7 separate regions of the Homo sapiens genome follow, and all the other regions are linked to region 6. The links are contacts of gene promoters, found by promoter capture Hi-C in human tissues and cell types (Jung and others, 2019). All regions are on one chromosome and are shown on one strand. Each heading gives the region's core, a stretch centred on a gene start or on the middle of the fragment in contact. The rest is flanking DNA. Distances are from core to core; before and after follow the strand shown. Region 1 has its middle 180 kb from the start of LINC02920. Region 2 overlaps ASMER1 (adipocyte associated metabolic related lncRNA 1). Region 3 overlaps ASMER1 (adipocyte associated metabolic related lncRNA 1). Region 4 has its middle 170 kb from the start of LINC02920. Region 5 has its middle 130 kb from the start of LINC02920. Region 6 holds the start of NRIP1 (nuclear receptor interacting protein 1). Region 7 overlaps ASMER1 (adipocyte associated metabolic related lncRNA 1).

Region 1 (2,999 bases), core at 282-2,781, 190 kb after region 6:
ATGTATGCCTCTCTGAGATTTGGAAGATGGAAGTGCACATCCTGTGGCCAATTCCATGCTTCTGTTGTTTCAGCTGTTTCCCCTGGCAAGCTTGTCTTTAGGGGTGTTTGTTTCTTCTGCAGTAGCTGTAGTAGAGTTTCCAATGTCCAGTGTTTAGCTTTATAGTGTGGAAAGGCAGTGTGGGAAGCATTCATTTTGCTGGCAGAGGTTGTGGACAAACTGGCATAGTGGTTGGGGAGCTAGCAGCCTCTTGCTTCTCCAGCCCCCTTATCGTGGTAAAAGCAGTGTCTTCCACGGAGGCTCACTCTAGACTGTTGTTTTGGAAGTTGTTCCTGGGCACTCTGCTTAGGGCTTATGCCCCCAGAGCTTCCACAAATCTTAAAGCCCCCAGATCTACCCTTGTTAACCTAGCCAGAATGGTTTCCGTGATCTGCAGCTGATCCTTAACTAATTCACCTTCAAATGAAAAAATTTTATAAGAAAATTAAGTATCGATTATGGAGGACATGACCTTGTCTTAAACACCTTCCGGTACCCAGTGCCTAGAACAGTGGTTTGCACTTGGTGTTTAATAAATTTGTTAGGTTTCATTGAATTAATTGAACTCCCTGAACAATTTGTGCTTCTCCAAATAGTGCCATAGAATATATTTGGCAAACTCCCTAACTCTGATAGTTGTTTTACATGATAAATTGCCGATATTGTTAGTATCTAAAATGCTTTGATCTGAAATTTTTTTGGAATTTTCAGATCCATGCCATCTGGCTTCACTGACTCATGGAAATTTAATGTCTTAAGTCGTAGTCACCACCTGTTGTTTCTTTTTCTGTATTTATGCTGGTGAATCATATTTGCTTTCAATGAAAAGTAATTCTTTAGTAAAAATTCCACATTTACTCTGTCAGTAATGATCACTGACTGAGTGATCAGAGGAACAATTCAGCCTTCACTGGTTCTTAAATACTCCTGTTCCCCCCACTAAGTATATGACTGCACTTTGAGTTCTTTATCTACAACCAGACAGGGTCACACTCAACCCTTAGACTATTCTTATAGAAGAATGATTCATAGATTTTACCTGAATTTTGTTTTTATAATCCTTCTTGCATTGTAGTAGCATTCATGTCTGGTGTTCTATGCCAATATTGCTATTTTTTCCATATATTTTATTTCTTATGAACATTTGTAATCTTAATACTTTCCACGGTATAGTGCCCCCAAAAGATTCCCTACACACTCCTGTGCAAGAGGCCAATTAGAGGACACATGAGAAGGAGACATAGATCCTTCTCTAGTACCTATCAAAATATGTTTTGTAGCAAGCAGCGGAAACTCAACTCAAGCTGGATAAAAGATAAGTAGCCTATGTTGGTTGACAGGACTGAGAAGTACTGAGATAGGAAGGCTTCAGGTGTAGTTCAAATAAAGTTCTTGTTCTATTTCTTTGTGATTTTTTGGCTCTGCTTCTTTTGCATATTAGCTTCACCCTAGGCAGGCTTCCCTGTAGTTGCAGGAGAGATATCTACAAAAACGTAACAGCTTGTGATGTCCATTGCACAAAATTTCTAAGCCTTGCTCTGATTAGGCTACCCTCTGATAAGGGGGATGATTACATTGAAACATCCTCTTAAGCTACCCAATGAGGGAGATGTTAATGGATGTGAGGATGGAAACCATGTTATCTCTTCTTCCTGTGATCCAGTTTTGTTGTGGTCAGACCTAGACCCCAGGAAGACAATTGGGCATGTTCTCCACTATCCTTAAGGGCAGACCAACTCTTAATATATATTGTTGTATCATTTTTACTGTATATACATTTTTCTGTTTCCTCTGTTAACAATGACAAGCTTGAAGGAAGGTTTCATCTTGTTTGTACTTTTATTATTGATGCACACCAGCTACTACTGGAGTCCCCTCACTGTACATGTGGAGCCTTTCTCTACATGTCATGATGCTTTAAAAGGTTCTGATTATGTGATGATGCTTTAAAAGGATCATCATAAAATACATTTAGATGTATTTTACATAACCCTGACTTGGCTCTTGAGACATATTGAGCCAGAACTAGGCAATTAGTCAATCAGTAAACACATATGAAGTACTCCTGTGTGTGTCAGGCATTTGGTGCAGGTCAGAGAACATGGCAAGGAGTAGTGTCTCATTAAAATATTTCAAGGCACATATAAATGGATGATGTCATCTCCCAGGTCTGTGTCCCTTCTCCTGTCACTGTTGGAATTCTCCTTCCTCTCCTGGGTTTTCTTCCCAGGTTCTCAGTGCTATCGTGTATATTGCCCCATGTCCGTGATCTTCTACCGCTGTGGCTTGCCAGTGCTAGGAGAGCTCCTTTTTCTGTTCACGCAACCGTGATTGAGTGCCGCTGAGGATCCCACAATGACTGAAGCACACGATTCGCCTTGGGACTTCACAGTCTAGTGAAAGGCTTCCACATAAATAGCAATGTGATGAATGCCAGGATAGAAATAAGAATCAGAGATCCAATTCAAGCACTCAGAACAGGGCAGTTAAGGAAGATTTCTCAGAGACAGCGATGCCTATGAATCTTAAACAAAAACAAAAGCAAAAATGGGAAAATGTCAGCCAGGTGAAATGGCATTGCATGCAGAGGGAGCAGCGTGGCCAGAGGCCATGTGAGAGAAGCTGGCTGCTAGGGAAGAGTAAGTCCCTCTCCACAGCTGGGTCATTTCATGCGTGTGAAAAGTTGCTGGGAACAGCCTCATTTTCCATATTCTGATTCAAGCAATGTGGCTACCGTTTTTGGTGACCCTTAAATCATTAGATGACACCAAGATGAACAGTTTTCTTCATGAACATAAGAGGAAACTGTAACCAGAAAAGGCCTGGGAGTATCTTTCTGCTCAGCAGGAAAAACAATTCTGTCTCAAGAGCCATCCCTGCAGAAGGGGAAGTGGGTTAAGGCAACTCCTTGCAGAGAGTGACTTGAGAGGATGAGTAAAACATCTTCCCAGTGGGGTCTC
Region 2 (2,976 bases), core at 117-2,616, 230 kb before region 6:
ACACAATATGTCATACAGGTAGTAAGATCTAAGGAGAAAATAATAACAAGGGAGGGTGAGAACGAAACTGTGCTCCTGGACAGTGAGGATTCTATTACATCTAGGTGTTATTTGAGTGGGAACTTGAAAGGAAAATAAAGAAGAAAGTCACGTAAGTATCTGGGAAAGTAGTATCCTTGACGGAAAACTGAATTTACAATAAAAGCCTTCATTTATACGATCTGATTGGGACTGGCTTGAGGGGAGCCAAGTTCATTCCATTTTCAAGTAAAGAATAAGTCAGAATTATATATCCTTTAAACCACTGTATACTTTTAGAAACTCTGCAAAAGTCCTCTGAAAATATTCTTCACTTAACCCTTACTCATACTTTGCTAAACTCTTCCAACTTTGCATTACACAATTGATAACTTTAAACTAACCTACAGTACTCTAAGTTTACTTTACATTTTTTTAATCAATGGTGGGTACATTAGTGAGCATCCACCATCAGTGAGTACATTTTATTATACTTCCTAGTTGTTTGGTTACTTGCTAAGGAAATTTTCTGCAAGTTTGCAGACTGTGGGAATATAAGGAGCACAACGAGTAAGGCCAGATGTCCTCCCTCTTGTTTAAGAGCTTAGATTTCAAGTGACACTTGTATACTTTAAGTAGAGACTGCTGCTTTTCATAGCGGTGTGAATGTTTGCTATACCAAGATGCTGTGATCGTTCAAAGTGAATGCAAATGCCTGTCCTCACAGGCAGTCTCTAAAGGCAATCTGATAAATGCATGTAGATGTTTGAACATAAACTGAAAGCAAGAGGAAAAGAGCACTTACCAAATGGAGTAGAATACCCAATGAATAGAGTACAAGCCATTTTGTTCTTGGAGAGAAACAATATGACTCCTTTCTTTTGGGAAGTCTGTTTCTTTTCTTTAGGTCTGAGCCCATTAAATGATTCAATTTATGTTTATCACTTAGACAATAAACATTATATCCCTTTCCTCTCTGACTGTAAGACCAGAAGGAAGGTGGGAGAAAAAAAGCAAAGATTTCCCGAGGTTCACAGATACCTGAATTCAAATACAGAGAATATAAATGAGAAACAACACTTTTGTCACTGAATTTAACCTGCCTTTAAACCTGATAAAGTTGCAAATTCAACATTGATTTTTCTCTAAAAATAAATAACTTATTTTGAGGAACAGCAGATGAATTTACACCCTATAGAAATAATTTAGGATGCTGGTTCCCTAAGGTTTTTCCCAAGACTAAGAAATATTGATCAAGAGCAACAGGAAAACTCCCCAGCAAAATAATGTGAGCAGTTTGAAATTTTGTTTTCATATTTTGCCTTTATTCTCAGTATCTCCTATAAGGAGCTTAGTTGTCACTTTGACATTTATTGTCTCAATATTCACATGTATAAAATAGTGAAGAGAAAAAGTATCATTTTTAATGATTGACAGTAACAGGGTTTAGATAAAACTTCCAAGAGCTAAGTGGATTGTTGAAGGAATTAAACAGATAATTCATGCAAAAAATTCACAGATGTGGCTGAGATAAAAAATTGTTTATTAGGTTTTATGCCTATATATTTTAGATAATCACCTTGATTTCTTCTTTGTTCTTCATGGAGAGATACAGGCTGAGTAATTTGTGTAACATATATTACCTATATGCTGCTTTTGGTACCATGATCTGTTTAATCAACATTTATGCTTGGTTGACTTTTCTTAATTAAAAAAGGAAGATTAACTTAGCTATTAATTTATGACCTAAAAGTATAAGCTTCCACCTTGCCAAACTACTATCTAGTGCTTGTAAATGACTGTGTGTTTCCATTTGACTGATTTTTAGTGACAGCATGGCATAGTGACCTTAAAAGGGATAACATGGTGATAATGTACAATAATGATATATCGAATGTTTGGTGAAAAAAAAGTAGCATACATTAGTGCATCCCTGCTATGATTAAACTATGTTACAAGTAAGACAAGGATCGAATGGAAACCAGAGAAAATATAGGCAGGTTAGTTTGTTGCCATCGTGGGAAGTTGGATCCAAGTAGATTTAGCTTCAACTGAAATGTATTGGATGCCTACTATGCGCCAAGCAGTCTGCCAAGTTCTTTCATCTTTTTTATCTCCTTATATCTCATCAGTCCTGCGAGAAGATTATTATTATTCTCACTTCACCAACAAATACAAAAACAACTTTCAAAGAGCAGACTCGAGATTACACAGCTTCATGAGAAACTGAAATGTAAGCCATGGTTTCTGATTTCTTTCACACATTCCCTACGTCATGTAATGCGTTAAAAAGAAATAAATATAACTAAAACACCTAATTAGTTCAACTACCCCCATGGCTTAAATATATACATAATATATGCTATATTTAATACATAGAGCATCACTGTCATTAGTTATGAGACTTTCAGGAATTATGTCTTATGTATACAAATGTATTATGTATATAGCAAACCTGGAAGTGAAAATGGGTAACAGCTGTAATAGGATTGTGGTGGAGAGATCCAGGATATACAACTGTGAAGTCTTTTTCTGAATTCTCCTTATCTACCTAGAAGTAGAAACTTTCAAAAGAATTCAACTATCATGAATACCCCTCTGAAGGAGTCTGACGCTACGAAAAGACCGCTTGCACCTGCATAAATAACACCACAATTTCTCCCACTTGTTCCCCTAAGAATCTATATGTCTTTCCTAAACATGTATGTTCTTCTCATCAAAGCCTTTTCTCTCTCCTTCACTTTTTCTTTTAAATTAGGCCTATAAGACCCTAACTTTAGCTATTTAGTGAGGCCACTTCTTTTGTGTGCTCCCGTATGCATATATAAATAAACTTTAGTTTTTATTTCTCCTGCTAATCTGTCTTTTGTCAGTTTAATCTGCAGGCCTCCAAGCCAGGAACCAAAGTGAGTACAAGAAGAGTTTTCCCTCCGCAACACTTTGGCAATGAAGATGGGA
Region 3 (3,281 bases), core at 689-3,188, 170 kb before region 6:
TCCCAGCTACTCGGGAGGCTGAGGCAGGAGAATGGCGTGAACCCCGGAGGCGGAGCTTGCAGTGAGCCGAGATCGCGCCACTGCACTCCAGCCTGGGTGACAGAGCGAGAATCCGTCTAAAAAAAAAAAAAAGAAAGAAACTTTGCAAATCTCAATCTCTATATCAAGGTTTTCCCCCTAGAACTCATGTCTCTACAGTTCTTTTGAATTATTTCAGAATCTGTAAAACCCCATGAAATAAACTCATATAAGAGCAATTCACTGTGTCTAGGAAACTGTATCCAGTAAGGGTCCTTGGCATACCAGGGAATATATTGGGCTTGGAATTAAGAAACTTGGGTTTACTTCTACTCCTAATTAACTGGTTAAACTTCAACAGGACCCTTTCACTTTTCTGGGCCCCTTCCTTATTTATTGAATTAGGGTGTTGGAATGGATAATCCATAGGTTTTCCTAGCCTTAATTAAGGATGGGAGCCAGTTGTCAATACAGCATAGTTAGGTATTAGAAGCAATTATAATTAGAACTAAAATGCCTCTGCTCATATCTGAGTTCTCTTCTAGGTCTTGTCCCAGGCACATACTTTATTTCTCTACATAATGTTTTCCTCATCTATAAAAAGGGAGTGATAACAATACATATCCCATGAGAGTTCATCATGATTAAATGAAATATAGCACATGAAGCACTCATCGTAGAATATGGCACCTATCAGTACTCAATGTTAGTTGGCAGTATTATGTATCTATAACTTTTTTCAGTTTTCAGAAAGGACTGGGAGAATGAAGTCTTATCATTGGATGTCAAGAAATCCTTCAGCCAGTTATTAAATTTGTTTACAGCTGGCAGGCCTGCAACACCAATAATCAAAGTATCCTTGTATAGGATTATTCAATAGGGCTGATTGTCCATAGGTCTATAGTTTATAATTAAGTCTACTTACAATGGGAATACCACATCATAATGCAACCAGTAACAAGCCCATCAGAGTTAAATACTTGCTAGAATTCTCATTATAAATCCCTGGTGCAAACTCTTTTTTGCCTTTAATTCTTTTGAAGGGATCCCAGGTTTCAAAGTCTGTATCCCTTTATGGTTATAAATCCCCAACATTTTAGTTCCAAAACCCATAATGGGCTAAAAATTAAAACCTGTTTGGGCTGAGTGCGGTGGCTTATGCCTGTAATCTCAGCACTTTGGGAGGCCGAAGTGGGCAGATCACCTGAGGTCAGGAGTTCGAGACCAGCCTGGCCAACATGGTGAAACCCCATCTCCACTAAAAATACAAAAAAAAAAAAAAATTATCTAGGCATGTTGATGCACACCTGTAATCCTAACTACTCGGGAGGCTGAGGCACAAGATTTGCTTGAACCTGGGAGGTGGAGGTTGCAGTGAGCCGAAATCATGCCACTGCACTCCACCCTGGGCGACAGAGTGAGACTCTGTCTCAAAAACCAAAACAAAAAGAAACCTGTCTGAAGCGTTGGCAGAAAATTTAAATTGTTCTTCATACTTTTGAAAGTAGGGGAGAAAAAGAATTAGGTCTCAGCAACATCTATATCTTGAAAATAGCCTTAACATGTAACATCAGAAGCAAGCAAAAGAAGAATTTGATCTACAAAACCTGGTTTTGGTAATCCATTCAAGTCAGCATTTTAATGGGGCTATGTACATTTTCCGAAATGCTTGCCCACTTCTGGCCATGCTTCACTAATACCCAAGTCACCAAGCAGACAGCACTATCTAACCAACAACTGGGGCCCTCTGGTAACCAGTGTCCCTGTACCAGTAACACATGCTGCCAAAGTTCTAGGGCTTCAATCATGATAATAAAAATTAATAAAAAATTGAGCATCCCAGAGCAACACAGATAGTTTTATGAGGGAGACACAGGGCTAATTTAATAAGATGGAACTTATTAAATTCCAGGATGTAAAAACCCTGGATCCTATATTTCAAATTGTTTCTCAGTATTGAGTGTTATCCAGCATGCATCAAGCATTTAAAGGGTGAGATGTGATTACCTTCTTTCTCAAAATGCAGAAAAGCCTTTGTTAAGGAAATCATTTCTACAACCTTCTTGGTAATAGTAAGAAATTTAAGGTGTCTGTGCTTGTAGCCACTTCTGTCTAAAGAAGCATGTTGTGTGAAAGGTGATCCATCCCATTTCCTGGCCACAGCTGACTGGATGTGGGGAAAACAATGACCCACCAAATGGCTCATCCACAGATAAGACAGCAATCTGTGACTCCTGTGGCCTAGCCAATCAGATTCTCCCTCTTAGGAATCAGTTCTAAGAGATTCAAAGGGCTATGTCCAATGAACTGTTTTCCTTTCATGAAAGGAAAGTTTGAGGCTGAAGCCATGAAAAAATCAGGATAGGTGCAGCCATCTGGGCTCTGTGAATAATGAATGAATCAGCAGAAGCAGTCAGTTAGGATAGAGAGAGTACTAGAAAAAAAGCAGATTAAGAGGAAACATCCAAGACCAGACACAGTGGCTCACACCTGTAATCCCAAACCTTTGGGAGGCCAAAGCAGGCAGACCATTTGAGCCCAGGAGTTGGAGACCAGCCTGGGCAACATGGCAAAACCCAATCTCCACTAAAAATACCAAAAAATTAGCTGGGCATGGTAGCCAGTGCCTGTAGTCCCAGCTACTCAGGAGGCTAAAGTAGAAGGATCACCTGAGCCTGGGAAGTTGAGGCTGCAGTGAGCTGTGATCCCACAACTGTATTCCAGCCTGAGCAAAAGATCAAGAGCATGTCTTAAAACAAAACAAAACAAAGCAAAAATTAGAAAAACATAGCCCTTGAAAGAGACATCTTGAGAGATGAGTCAGTTTTGAGAGAAGGGCTGATTCAGTTCTGTAGGTTTGGTGTTCAGTTTGATCTGGATTCCTGTGAGACCTCGTTCTCTCACTTAAATTAAACTCCTTGAGCTGGCCTTCTTCCTTATGACTTAAAAAGCCCAATTCAAACACTTCTCTTTCAGTAATACATTCTTTTTTTCCACTGGAATTTGTTAGTATTGTCTTTCCAAAGCTTTGGATAACATAAACATTGGCTTAAAAGTCATTTTTTAAAATCATTTCAGCCATTTGGTGACCCTAAGAGAGTACACATACTTTTATAGGGTTTCACAGAAATTCCAAGACAAAGGATTAATGTATTGTTTCTGTGAGTTTCTATTCAATTCAAATTTTATAATTCAAAAATTTTAAGTTGTTATCAACCACAGTAAGAATTATAAGAATGCTATCTATAATTTTAAAGAGAATG
Region 4 (3,171 bases), core at 544-3,043, 170 kb after region 6:
GAATTATTTATTTTCTCTGGGATCATTTGTTCTGTTTGTTTATTTTGGTTCTTTTTTGACCCTGACCCTCTGATTTTTCTCAAGTGAGTGTGGTTGGTTGTCCACTTAATATTATGAATGAGACTCAATTAATGAATATAAGTAGCAAGGATAGGTTTTCTGTGCTAGAAAATTATGTGTATAAAGAAGAGCAGATATATTTTATAGTGTGCAAGAGTGGGGTAAACAGGCAGGCCTTCTTCTTCTCTTTTTACCTGTAAAACTCTAGCTCAAGCTTGTCCAACCAGGCCACACGTGGCCCCAGACGGCTTTGAATGCAGCCAAACACAAATTCATAAACTTTCTTAAAAACATTCTGAGATTCTTTCTACAACTTTTTTTAAAGCTCACCAGCTATGGTTAGTGTTAATGTATTTTATGTGTGGCCCAAAACAATTCTTCTTCTTCCAATATGACTCAGGGAGCCAAAAGATTGAACACCCCTGCTCTAGCCTCTGAGTTCTCATTGAGATGGAGTTGAGAATTAACTCCAGTCCTTCTACTTGGCCAGCCCTGTGATTATTTAACTCTTTATTTGCTGAAAACACCTGCTTTCTCAGTACATTAACTTTTCTGGGCAGCAGGCAAGATGAACCCATCAGGCGATTGCACTATAGCTTCAGGACCTGGAAACCCTACCTTGTCCTTTAGTCCCTCTAGTCCCAGGAGTGGTAGAACCTTACTGCTAATGGTAACCTCTGCATTTGAATCACCAACTTCAGCTATTGGCAGTAGCCAGTTGCTTACATCTTTAGGATAATAAACCCTTTGTAGTGATTTATTTCAGTTTGGAATATCTATAAAGACATTTGTTTTCCTGATTAAACCCTGACTGACACAGTTTTATAGCCCATTCCTGTTCTCTAATCTGCTCGTTCTCAGGTTGGAGTTTCTACAGATCTTCACCAGCAGAAGGGGTCCTTTCTGAATTGCTGCATCTTTCAATGAATATTCTGTTAGGGCTATGGCTTCCTCCACCCTGAACATACATTTCATGTCTTCCCATCTTTTTACTTTTTCTTCTTATGCCCCTGCCTATTACCTCCTTTTACAATGCTGTTATAATTTATTCCCTTTTAAACATGCTTACTGTCACTTCAATGGCAGGACAGGAGGAAGAGATGGATGTGTGCACTCAGTTTATTGCCTAGCTCGAAAGTAGTGAGCTACTTTCAAGGGGTAGTTTTTTTTTTTAAGAAAACTGGATATGACAATCTGAGAATAATTTCATTTTTACTAATTTATTTACATTAAAAACAAGATTCAAAAATAATAAAATAAAAAACCCCAACAACAACAAGGTTCAATGTAATGATTATTTCTGTTGTTAAAGGCTGGAGGATTATTTTTGAACTAGGAAAAACTAAGAAAAAATTGGGGTGAATGATTTCTGTCCTACCCCTTCATCCATGGGGTAGGACAGAAGCTATGTCCTTAGATCAGAGGCTCTTCCTATGTGGCATTTCTGTGTATTGGAGCTGCCTCTCTTGAGGTTACGTGGTTTAATCTGTTATTCTGTGAACACACCAAAACTATTCAATTTGCTAATTTGGTCCTGTAGTGATTTGAGTATGTCCCTTTCATTTAGCCACTCTGTTATGACACAAACATGATTATAATATATTAAGAAAAAACATTTCTTCGGCAGATTTTCTTTAGTTCTAGTTACATTGAACTGAGAACGTCAATCTATCTGGGAAAGTGGAGAAAATTACATAATGACCAAATAAGGTGTTGATTCAATCATCCCTAATGATTTTATAGTGGCTGAAAAATAGTGGTCTAAGTTTTCAGGATTGAATCTACTACAGACTCATTCAGAAATTGACTCTGCTCAATATTGCATATTTTAAGTACCTAATAAAATGGTAACTTATAAATTTTTTAAATATGTTTTTTGTATAAGAACAATTTTGGAAAAGAACATGTATGGAATATAAAATTATTTAAGTATCTGCTCAATTGACACTCACCTCCTTTCTATGAGAAATTCACCCCTGAATGTCTCCATTTGTTCCTTTATTTATTTATTTTGTTGCAAGACCTTTGCCACTTTGACTACTATTGATTGGTCCAAGATGGACACTTGACCACTCTGAGTCAGTCAAATTCTCTCTCAAAGAACCGATACTCAGAGTCATCTAGTTTCTAAAAATGGCTGGAGATGAGCAACATGTAAAATGTCTGTGGATGCTGGACAAGCCACCCATCATCCATTATTTGGAAAGAGGCAGAGAAATGACAATGAAGAATGACAGAAACAAGAGAAGAGAAACAAAGAGACAAGAAATCATGGGGGTGGAGGGGAGGGGGAGAGAGAGACTGCAAGCCTGCTCTGGGTTCCTAACAGCTTTTATTACTGATTCCAGTTTCTTTAGAGGCATTGGATTTGTGAGGTTCACCTGAATTCTTATAATGAAATCTTTCTTTTGCTTAAGCTGAGTTGAGCTGTTCTGCTACTTGAAACCAAAAGAGCCTAAAATAAAACAGAGCACACAGCAGAACAGGGAGATTGTTACTCTCCATGTGCATGAATACAGAAATTCAGAGACTGCTGGGTTTACATCTGTGTAAAGAGAACAAATTGACTGCAATTCTAGGTTGGCCTCCAGTTATTTTTTTTCTTTATCGATACATAAGAAATACATCTTCAACAATTTGCATATTAAGTCTTCAGCAAGTATCCAATTCCTGAATATTTAGATGTACTGTATTTGGTTAAAGCCTCATAAATTTATGCTATATTTTATGTAATCTTAGGCAGTTTTGAAAAATCTCTTTCAATAATGCTGAATGAGCTTTGTAGAATGTAGCACAATATCTGGTAAATGTGTAAGTGCTCATTACTGTTGATAGTAGCAAAGACATGGAATCAAGCTACATGCCCATCCATGGTAGACTGGATATAGAAAATGTGGTACATATACACCATGGAATACTATGCAGCCATAAAAAGAATGAGAACATGTTCTTTGCAGCAACATATATGGAGCTAGAGGGCATTATCCTTAGTGAACTAACACAGGAACAGAAAACCGAATACCACATATTCTCACTTACGGGCACCTAGACATTGAGTACATATGGGCACAAAGAAGGGAACGACAGACACCAGGGGTCAACTTGAGGGTG
Region 5 (3,014 bases), core at 243-2,742, 130 kb after region 6:
TGAGACTCTATCTCCAAAATAAAAATAAAAAAATTATAAATAGCTGTGACAAAGTACAAACCATTAGCTTTAGATGTCTTAAAACCTTAGGATGACGGTTCTCTACAAAGTAGAACTTTGTACTCATTTGAATGTTTTTGGATGTAAATTACAGAAATCCAGCAAAAGCAAAGCAAAGCAAACAAACAAAAAAGTAGCCAAGTGTGGTGGCTCATGCTTGTAATGCCAGAACTTGGAGAGGCCAAGGCAGGAGAATCACTTGAGCCCAGGAGTTTGCAACCAGCCTTGCCAGCATAGTGAGACCCTGTCTTTAAAAAATTTTAAAAATTAGCTGGGTGTAGTGGTTTGTGCCTATAGTCCCAACTACTTGGGAGGCTGAGGCAGGAGGATAGCTTCAGCCTGGGTGGTTGAGACTGCAGTGAGCTATGATTGATCACAACACTGCACTCCAGCCTGGGCAGCAGAGCAAGACCCTATGTTCCAAAAAAAAAAAAAAAAAAAGTGGATTTTTTAGTTCAATTAACTAACCGAGAATTCCAAGTCTAAGCGTTCTTGTCAGGGCTCACTCTTTCTATGTCTTAGATCCACATGACTTTGTTTCTTTTTAAGAATTGACTGAAGCTTCTCACCAGGTGCATTGGCAGGAAAGGTTGTCAAAGCTCATACCCTACAGAACATGATCCAAAAGAAAGAGAGAACAGTTTTACTCCCAGTTCCAATATATGGAATTGCATGAGTGCAATTGTCTAATTGTCACTGCTAGGGTTGTGCATGTGCTCTGTAAACCATGTGAATTAGAGAAGGGTATTCCACGATTAATCAAGCCACACAATGTTTCCCTATTGGGTAGAGACAAGTCATGATTGGCACTCTCACCACAACCACGTAGAAAGAGGAGAAATATTCCCCCAGTGGCAAGAGAAAAGCTATATTTAAAACCAGTTTTGGAAGAGGGCATTGCATTGGGTCTCCTTTAAACTGCTACTGGCTGAGTTTATGAGGTTCCACTGAGAGACATAGTCCATCCAGTTTGTATGTGGCCTTTATCAGGCATGCGGGAGAGCACAAAAGACTCACAACAAACCTTTGACCTCATGTCCATAGGTTTGGACTGGGTTTGGAGAGTTCACCTGCAGACTAGCTTGATAAAAAGTGCTGTCACAGATGTAAATTGGAATGTCAGGAATAGCTTTATTGACTTTTGTGCCAGAGCATAGGATCTGAAAAGTCATTTGTTCTGCAATCTTTTAGAAAGACAGGGGCCATGCAATATGATCTTCTTCTACTGTGATATTACTGGAAAAAGGACTGGACATTTGTGCTGGCTCCATTTTCTGCTGATATATAGTTGTGACCCAGGACAATTTATTTAACCTCTTTGGAACTTGGTTTTCTAATGTATTAAGGGAGGTGGTTATGCCAGTTGATCTCCAACATCTTTGATCATTCAGCCCTGAATTTCTAAGGTTTTATTTTTTTCATTGGTTTTCATCTGACACATAGGCTGGAAAAGATGAGACTATGGTAAGAGGCAGGTAAAAGTCATTGTACTAGACAACTTGAAAAGGATATCTAAAAGATAATAAAAAGACAACTGGTTATTTTTATTTGTTTTAATTTCCCTAAAAAAGATATCAACTCCAATTACCAATCTTTGTTTTTAAATTTTAAAAATCACTTATTTTAAGGAATATTTAAGAAGGAACTTGTAGTGTCCAGTGAAGCAACTTCAAAAAGAAATTAGAAAAAGAGACTTGAGATAACTAGCAAAAGCAATGAGTAGATCTTGTTTTGACCCTAGCTTGAACAAAACAATTATAAAATACATGTTCTGTACAAGGGAGAACTTAAATATGACTTGCCTATGATATGGTACTAAGGAATTATGATTTTCTTAGATGTGACAACAATAATATTGCTATTATGGCAAATTGTGGGAAATAGTTATTACTTTACAGTGATGCATACTTAAATATTTAGGGTTATATGTCATGATATCTGTGATTCACTTTCAAATACTTGAGCAAAATAAAATATATATAAATCGAATGCGGCAAAATGTCAGCAAAAAAAAAACCTAGGTGAAAGTTCAATGGTTATTTCGTATACTATTCTCACCGTGTTTCTGTAAGCTTGAAAGTTTCCAAAAAAATTAAAGAAAACTGATTGTCCTTTAAAGTTTCAAGCTGTGCTTACCTTACATATTTATTTCAAATACAGTTCTAGTTTTTAGTTTTCCCAGGTGAAACTGGACTTAAGTGTCTTTAAGACAGTTAAAATATGATACCTGGATTTTCAACTTCAGGATGTGAGTTATAAGGTAGTAAAGGGACAGCCTATTTCCTATGCAAAAATGACCTTAAATAGAATCTTTAATATTCAGTATGTCCCTCCCTGCCCTCAACCACGCACACACATAGAACCTTGACTCTTTATAGCTTTTGCTAATTGTGTTAATGAGCCCAGATGAGGCTGAATAATGTAGTGGTTAGAAATTCTAGCTCTGAAACCGGTTACCTGGGTTGGGATCCTTATGTTAACACCTTATGTTTCAGTTTTCCCAGCTGTAAAATGGGGGAAAATGTTATCACCCATATGATGGGGGCCTTTTGAGGATTAGACATATTATGCACTTAGCACAGTTTCTGGCACTTCGTAATTGTTAATTATTATTTATACATTTTGCTGTGGGGAATCCAGATAAGGTTTGAGTTGACGTCAATGTTCAGGGACAGAAATACTTTTGCTTTTCAGGTGATAAAATTGGTTCAAGAGATGCATTCTGCCCTAGTGACTAGTGCTGAGACAGAGATTTTTAAAAACTGGAGGGCAGCATGGCACTGTGGAGTCTCTTTGATTGTAGTAATTTCCCTTACCAAGTGACTTAAGTCAAAGTCTTCTCAGAATGCTAGAAAACTAACATCTGGAGAAAATAAATTTCTCAAGACTCTCTAAAAATAACATCTCCCCAACAACTACAGGCTGGAATTATATTTGATAGATGCTTCATTGTA
Region 6 (2,897 bases), core at 227-2,726:
AATGAATTACCGAAGCCCCTTGCTTCACAAATTCCCCCAAGAAACAGAAAGAGCATTCATCACATATAACCCGACAACCATTTTTACTATGGACACCTACAGATGGCTTCTCTTCCTCTAAGGACACAATTTCCTTCACAATCCCACATGTAATCATTTACAATACCAGAAACAAACTCCAACTCAGTTCCACCAACTGGGTTTTTAAAAATCCTTGTGCCTAAGAACGTCTTTTTTCCCCAAAGTAAAATGTGCCATTAAAAAATATTTTTAAAACGCAAAAGTGCTTATCATTCCGTACTTCTTTTACTACCTTCAGCAGCCAATTATTGACGTGATAAAAGGTAGAAACTCCTGGAATGCTTCAGAGATCAACATGTGTCACAGACTCCCAGCCTGTCCGCCTCTAAGACACAGTTGGTTCCTTTGTTCCTTCTGACTGAACACCAACTCCTGATCAAAATTGGGAAACTACTTTGGAAGGGATGGGAGGGTCTGCAGAATACATCCACGGAAACCTTCATAAAACAATATTCAATCGTAATAAGGTGGACACAGAAGAAGGGAGAAAAGGCAGCCTCCCGGACTTCCACCGGGCTCACCCTAAATGGGGGCCGGCCCCTGGCTCCTGGTAAAATGATGGCTGAGGCCTCGGGTCCGTGAGCCTCGCCATCGGGAGGGGACCGCGAGTGCGGGCAGAGCGGCCCGGGGTCGGGTGGGGGCCGGGCGAGCTGTCCCTTTTCCTATTCACTTTCCCAGCCGGGTATCCAGCGAGCAAGGAGCAGGGAGGCACCCAGGCGAAAGGCGCCGCCCAGGATCCGGCTGGACAGCAGGACGGAGAGCGGCGAGGCGAGCGGTGCCCGGGGTTCGGGACCGAGAGGGCAAGCGAGCGGGGGCAACCCCGACCCGGCCCCCCGAGTCCGGCCCCGCTCAGGGGCCACGCGACGGCCGCCCCCTTGCCCAGAACTGGCACGGACGGGCGGGCCGACCCGGGGCCACTCCACAACTTGCCGGCCCGCCGCCCCGGCCCCCCGCGAGAACCCGGAGACTCGAACCAGGCAGCAGAGGCAGGATTTCCCCGGAAACGCGCCCTCCCCGCCGCCCCGACGCCCCCGCGGCCCTGCCAGCCAAGCGAGAGCCGACGCGGGCCGCGCTCCCGGGCCGTTTCCGGCGGCGCCGGCGGCCGCTACTCCTGGCGCCCTGGCCGCGGCCGTCACTCACCCCAGGCCGCCGCGGCTCCCAGCCTCCGGCTCCGTCAGGCTCGGTCCGCGAAGGCGCCTGCCGCCCCGTCCTGGCCCGGCGCCCCGGCGAGCTCTTCCCTCCGACCAGCGGCGCTCACGGCGCAGCGGCGGACGCGAGGCCACGGGCGGACGGGCGCGCGCGGGTGGCGGGCGGGCGTGGGGCCGGGTCGTCCCTGCGCCTCGCCGCCGCCTCCTCCGCCGCCGCCTCCCGAGTTCGGGGCTCTGCTGCAATGTCTGCGAGGCTGACTTTGAGCGCCTCGCTCACCGCCCGCCCGCAGCCGCGCTCCTCCCTCCGCCGCCGAGTCCGCCGCGGCCCAGTCCCTCCCCTCGCCGCCCCACGCCATTCAGCTCTTCAGCCAAGTTTCTTAACCCTTTTCTCCCCCTCCCTCCCATTGTCACCCGGTCAGGAGGAAGCCGCGCGGATCCGGGCGGCTCACAGGAGCTGCGGAACCCCCTCTGTTTCGTGGATTTCCTTCTCGCCTGCTCTCCGGGTGTCCCAGACGGGGCTGCAAGACCCGGAGGCAGCGAGAGGACCGCGTCCCCGAGAGAGGGGCTGCACGGCGCGCCCGGGCCGTCCCCCGGGCTCCCAGCTCTGTCCAGCCGCCCGCGACCGCTGCAGGCGCCTGGACAGCTCCTCCTGGGGACCGGGGAAAGCGCTCTTGGGACCCAGGCCGAATGCTCCCGTTTGGGCACAGCCTGGGGGCCGGGGCGCCCCAGACGCTCCAGGGTCCCCGCCTGCCTTAAGCGTCTACCTCCTCCCCTTCACCCCACAACACGCGCTCTCTGGGCCCCCTTTCACCCACCCACCCCCAATTTCTATCTCCTTGTAATCTGTGTGTCCTGCTTTAATGTTGGGGGGCACGGGCGCGAACTCTGGGTCACTTTGACCCCACGCCCAGCACGTAGTAGGCGCCCAGCACTCGTGTGGAGCGACTCTGGGAGGAAAACTAGGAAGGAGACCTGAGGAGCGCCCCGCTCAGCTCCCTGGACAGACGTAGGACCCAGGAGCAGGGTTAATCCTCGGCTGCTTTGTCACTGCGAAGTCTCCAGCGGAGTCTGTCAGCCAATCTGCATCATCCCCGGGAAGGATCTGACCCAACAAGACAAGGGAAAAGGAGCAGGGCTGCTACTTCTTCAGCAGCTCTCCTCGGTTCGGTCTCCGAATAAGAAATAACAATTACATCACGAGGCCGGGGCGGCAGCGCGGTGGAGCCTCTCGGTTTCCTGCAGCCTAATCTCACTGAACCCGCCTCTAAATTGGGGGGGCCACAGATTGGTGAAACGAGAAAGTGGAAGGAGGAGAGAGTCATACGAAACCATAATTTCCCCTTATCCTTGTATTTGCTGTTTGAAAAATCGTATCCTCAACGCTCCCCAGACATCTCACTAGAACTATTAACACCCCCTCAACACCTCCCCAGATGTCAGGTTTCTTTTTGACTTGAGCATCTAGCATTTAGTAATTCGCCATGAAAAAAATTACCAGGGGAAGCGAGTGTTGTTGCTGAAATTGTTTTTGCTTGACACAAAAAAGCTAAAGTACAGCTTAGTCTCACCCGAAATTCTGAAACGGCATGCCCGTGTTAAAACACTTATTACATAAGACAAATGAGCCGATGAGGCACTCCATTCTTATATGTAGGTTTTCATATCCTG
Region 7 (3,280 bases), core at 670-3,169, 240 kb before region 6:
GTGGCTGATGATTCAGACCAGAAACAAATGAAAGCTTAGAACAACTTCTCAAAAGTTAGTGCTCAGTTTTGTAGCAAATACATTTTACTATTTTTTAAAAATATTTTTAAGCCTCAATAAAGAAGGATTAAAAATATGAAAGTTCACAAGAATGTTTGCTCAAAAAAATAACAAGTTAGAAAAAAACAATCAAATGAAGACTTTGGAGCAAAGACATTAATGGCATGAAGCCTGTGATTAAATATGATGACTGAGGGATGATTCTGAAGCCTAATCACCTAGCACCAAATTGTACCTGTCCTGCCTTCTAGCTGGGCAATTAGGAAAACTTCCTTAAGCTCTCTTGCCTTCTTTCTCTCATTGGCAAATAGGGATAATAACAGTACCTACCTCAAACACTTACGTGTTAATACAGACACAGCTCCTATAACAGTGCCAGGTACATAGGATGTGCTACATTTGATTTTTTATTATTATTTCTGATAAGCTTTCATCATATCTTTAGTGCATTTTCTAATGGCATCTGTTTGTTTTCTTTCATTTGAGGTTCTTTTGGCTTAAGCCAAAAGATAAACAACTGCTTTTCTTTTTTCTTTTGTTTTCCTTTTTTTCTTTTTTTTTACTTTTTTTTGAGACAGAGTCTCTCTCTGTCGCCCAGGCTGGAGTGCAGTGGCGCGATCTCGGCTCACTGCAACCTCCGCCTCCTGGGTTCAAGCGATTCTTCTGCCTCAGCCTCCCAAGTAGCTGGGATTATAGGCCTGTGCCGCCGCGCCCGGCCTGCTGCTTGTTTTTCTATGTTCCTGATGGGATGAGACCTATTTCAGTGAAGCGTTCTTTTTAAAGTAGCAATTGAAAGTCCCCAACATGATGAGTCCACCGGGGTGAATAGTCTTCAACTGAAAGCCAGAGATAAAAAAAGAAATTTCTAAATATTAAAAATGCCATGATGATAACTTTGAAACTTAATTGCAAAAGATGGCGATAGCAATGTCTAAAATGGCAATTGTCTGAAATGAGTGCCAATTAAAGGTCACAGGAACCTACAAAAAGGCTATGAGTGCTCCATTACACATTGCTAATTTGAGTAAATAGGGAAAGCGGCATTTATATGCAAATTGTGCGAAGAGAACATATTGCAAATATATTTCTACAGCTATGTTACCCATTTTCCTACTGCGTGTCTAATGAACAAGGGAGTTCCAGTCTTTATTAATAGCCTGTAGAATTAGCATTTGCTTTACAAAGAAATTGTCAATAAAAGAAAGGGGAGTTCCCAGAAGTTACCCACTCTACGAATCAGCACACTTACTACTAACACATGGATTTCAAAATTGACCAACACAGAATCAGAAACCTGTACCACAGTGTTTTAAACACTTCAGGCATGGAATGTAAAATGAGCACTAGCCGTGTCCTAAGAACAAATGTATTTTGAGCAAGAAAACATTTCAAAACTATCTTTGTTGTGTCCTAATGCTTCAAGCACTTTGGCCAAACAGTCCTACCATGTAAGTATCCCCCCCACTGGGATGCAATGGTTGAGGAAATTTCAAAATAGCTGTATCCTTTTAAGGAAACTATTCCTGTTGTTCGCTAAGGCAAAAGCTTGCGTGTAGATTTGTCTTCAAAGATCTTTGTCAACAGGTGTTAATAAGTTTGTTAATATCACAATTGGCTACTCTTTATGTACATTAAACACTAAGTATTAGAGAATAGAGTGATGATATGTAGAACTTGCTATATAGAATTATTAATTTTCCATTTTTTCTGAGAAGCCTGCTGCCATTAAGGAACATCAGTTGGCAAAAAAAAAAAAAAAAAAAATCACTATCCCCTACAGCACCACTTCTGCGGTAGCTTTCTAGAAACACCAAACGCTACAAGCTTCTTAGGGATGAAAACAGTTTTTTATGCAAACATAGATGAGGGCTTCACTTGGTGCCTTTTCAATTAACAGTTCTCAACAAAACCATTTCTGTACTGATTATTTCTGACTCTCTTCTATTTTGAAATGATTTCTCTGACCAAAATTTATGTTGAAAAAACTCACAAAGATAAAGAAAATGTTACCTGTTTCCATAACACAATTTTTAATAGCATTTTCCTCTAAGATAGGCCAATTGTTTTTTTCTTATAGAATGTATTTCTCATGAAAAACTATTTTAGACATGAGAAGGTATTATTTTTCAAATGAATCATGACAGAATTTTTGTGAAGATGCTACATTACCCATACGAGGAACACTGTTTCACATTTTCCAGGTATTTTGGAATCCTACCTTGAGGAGAAATTCAACAGAAGACACTGTGGTCAGGACCTCTCTAGCTAAATGAAAAATTGACATAATTTTCTTCTACAGACAGCCTTAAAAAAATATTTATTCAATTCTCCAGATAATTTAGATAAAAATGATGTTTGGAGTTTGATTTGACTAAAAATATCACCTTTCCTTCAGCTATTTGACTATATGGACATGACCTCAGATGAACACAGCAGAAATGTGGAGTTTAGGTCAATGAAAAGAAATTAATTTATAAAATCTAGTGTTTCCAATTCTAGTGATGGCTTAGGAAACTTCACTTTCTCTGTTGATAAGAAAAATAATTATTAGTGATAGATTAATAAAATAACTTTAAAACCATGTATTTGACAGTTTAAGTAAAGTTTATGCTGTATAAGTTCAAATTTTACTGCCTTTTTAATAATGTGTAAATCATGTTGACACTTGTAAGAAAAATGTCCATATTATTTTAAGTCCAAATTTTACTGCTTTATCATTTCTATTACGTATTTTGGAAATGGAAATCTTTTGACCTTAAAATAATCAAGTAATAAAATAAAGTAGTAAAAGAAATTGAAAAGCCGTGCATCTGACTCTTTATTTCAAACCATTAAGATGGAAGTAAGAAAAAAATTGATGACTTCTATTCATAACCAATTGAAAAAGGAAGGAAATCTCTCTTTAGCCTGAAAGTGTATATCTAGATGAGAATGACCAAAAATGGATAAGCTCTGGTTGGTCAATATAATGAGTAGTTACTGATGTACTGATATTTTTAATAGCTTAGCCTAGATGGTATTACTTTTGTAAGTTATATGTAAGAAATTATTTGGCTATTCACTAAACTTATTTTCCAAAAAGTGCTTTCTATTTCAGAAGCACTATGTTACAAATACTGTATCATAAAGAAAAATAAGAAAGGATAATGTCCTCTACCTTTGAAATCTCAGTAACATTTTAATGTTAACAATGGTCTGCTTCTTTTTATATCAATGCTAA

The links. The method cuts DNA at HindIII sites, captures the fragments that hold promoters and counts their contacts. A contact is called where the count stands out against the background at its distance.
Region 1: a fragment that was not itself captured here is called in contact with the fragment with the promoter of NRIP1 in region 6 in 1 of the 25 tissues and cell types used here (lymphoblastoid cells).
Region 2: a contact is called between a fragment that was not itself captured here and the fragment with the promoter of NRIP1 in region 6, in 1 of the 25 tissues and cell types used here (dorsolateral prefrontal cortex).
Region 3: a contact is called between a fragment that was not itself captured here and the fragment with the promoter of NRIP1 in region 6, in 1 of the 25 tissues and cell types used here (dorsolateral prefrontal cortex).
Region 4: a fragment that was not itself captured here is called in contact with the fragment with the promoter of NRIP1 in region 6 in 1 of the 25 tissues and cell types used here (mesenchymal stem cells).
Region 5: a fragment that was not itself captured here is called in contact with the fragment with the promoter of NRIP1 in region 6 in 1 of the 25 tissues and cell types used here (lymphoblastoid cells).
Region 7: a contact is called between a fragment that was not itself captured here and the fragment with the promoter of NRIP1 in region 6, in 1 of the 25 tissues and cell types used here (dorsolateral prefrontal cortex).

What each region holds. Positions count from the first base shown.
Region 1 is chr21:15,249,716-15,252,714 of GRCh38, forward strand. No RefSeq gene overlaps it. Among named protein-coding and RNA genes, the nearest start is that of LINC02920, 180 kb to the left of the region's middle. The HindIII fragment of the contact is 3,544 bases long and covers 1-2,999 here.
Region 2 is chr21:14,837,911-14,840,886 of GRCh38, forward strand. The region is part of intron 2 of ASMER1 (adipocyte associated metabolic related lncRNA 1); the gene reads right to left. Among named protein-coding and RNA genes, the nearest start is that of ASMER1, 79 kb to the right of the region's middle. The HindIII fragment of the contact is 3,862 bases long and covers 1-2,976 here.
Region 3 is chr21:14,897,934-14,901,214 of GRCh38, forward strand. The region is part of intron 1 of ASMER1 (adipocyte associated metabolic related lncRNA 1); the gene reads right to left. Among named protein-coding and RNA genes, the nearest start is that of ASMER1, 19 kb to the right of the region's middle. The HindIII fragment of the contact is 6,600 bases long and covers 1-3,281 here.
Region 4 is chr21:15,231,271-15,234,441 of GRCh38, forward strand. No RefSeq gene overlaps it. Among named protein-coding and RNA genes, the nearest start is that of LINC02920, 170 kb to the left of the region's middle. The HindIII fragment of the contact is 4,847 bases long and covers 1-3,171 here.
Region 5 is chr21:15,194,879-15,197,892 of GRCh38, forward strand. No RefSeq gene overlaps it. Among named protein-coding and RNA genes, the nearest start is that of LINC02920, 130 kb to the left of the region's middle. The HindIII fragment of the contact is 3,516 bases long and covers 1-3,014 here.
Region 6 is chr21:15,063,524-15,066,420 of GRCh38, forward strand. NRIP1 (nuclear receptor interacting protein 1) reads right to left here and starts at 1,477. Exons shown (of 4, transcript NM_003489.4): 1 at 1,222-1,477. RefSeq lists silencers at 709-1,568, 1,819-1,998 and an enhancer at 2,329-2,378. The HindIII fragment of the contact is 21,921 bases long and covers 1-2,897 here.
Region 7 is chr21:14,819,135-14,822,414 of GRCh38, forward strand. It overlaps ASMER1 (adipocyte associated metabolic related lncRNA 1), which reads right to left. Exons shown (of 4, transcript NR_146322.1): 4 at 1-3,280. Among named protein-coding and RNA genes, the nearest start is that of ASMER1, 98 kb to the right of the region's middle. The HindIII fragment of the contact is 3,318 bases long and covers 261-3,280 here.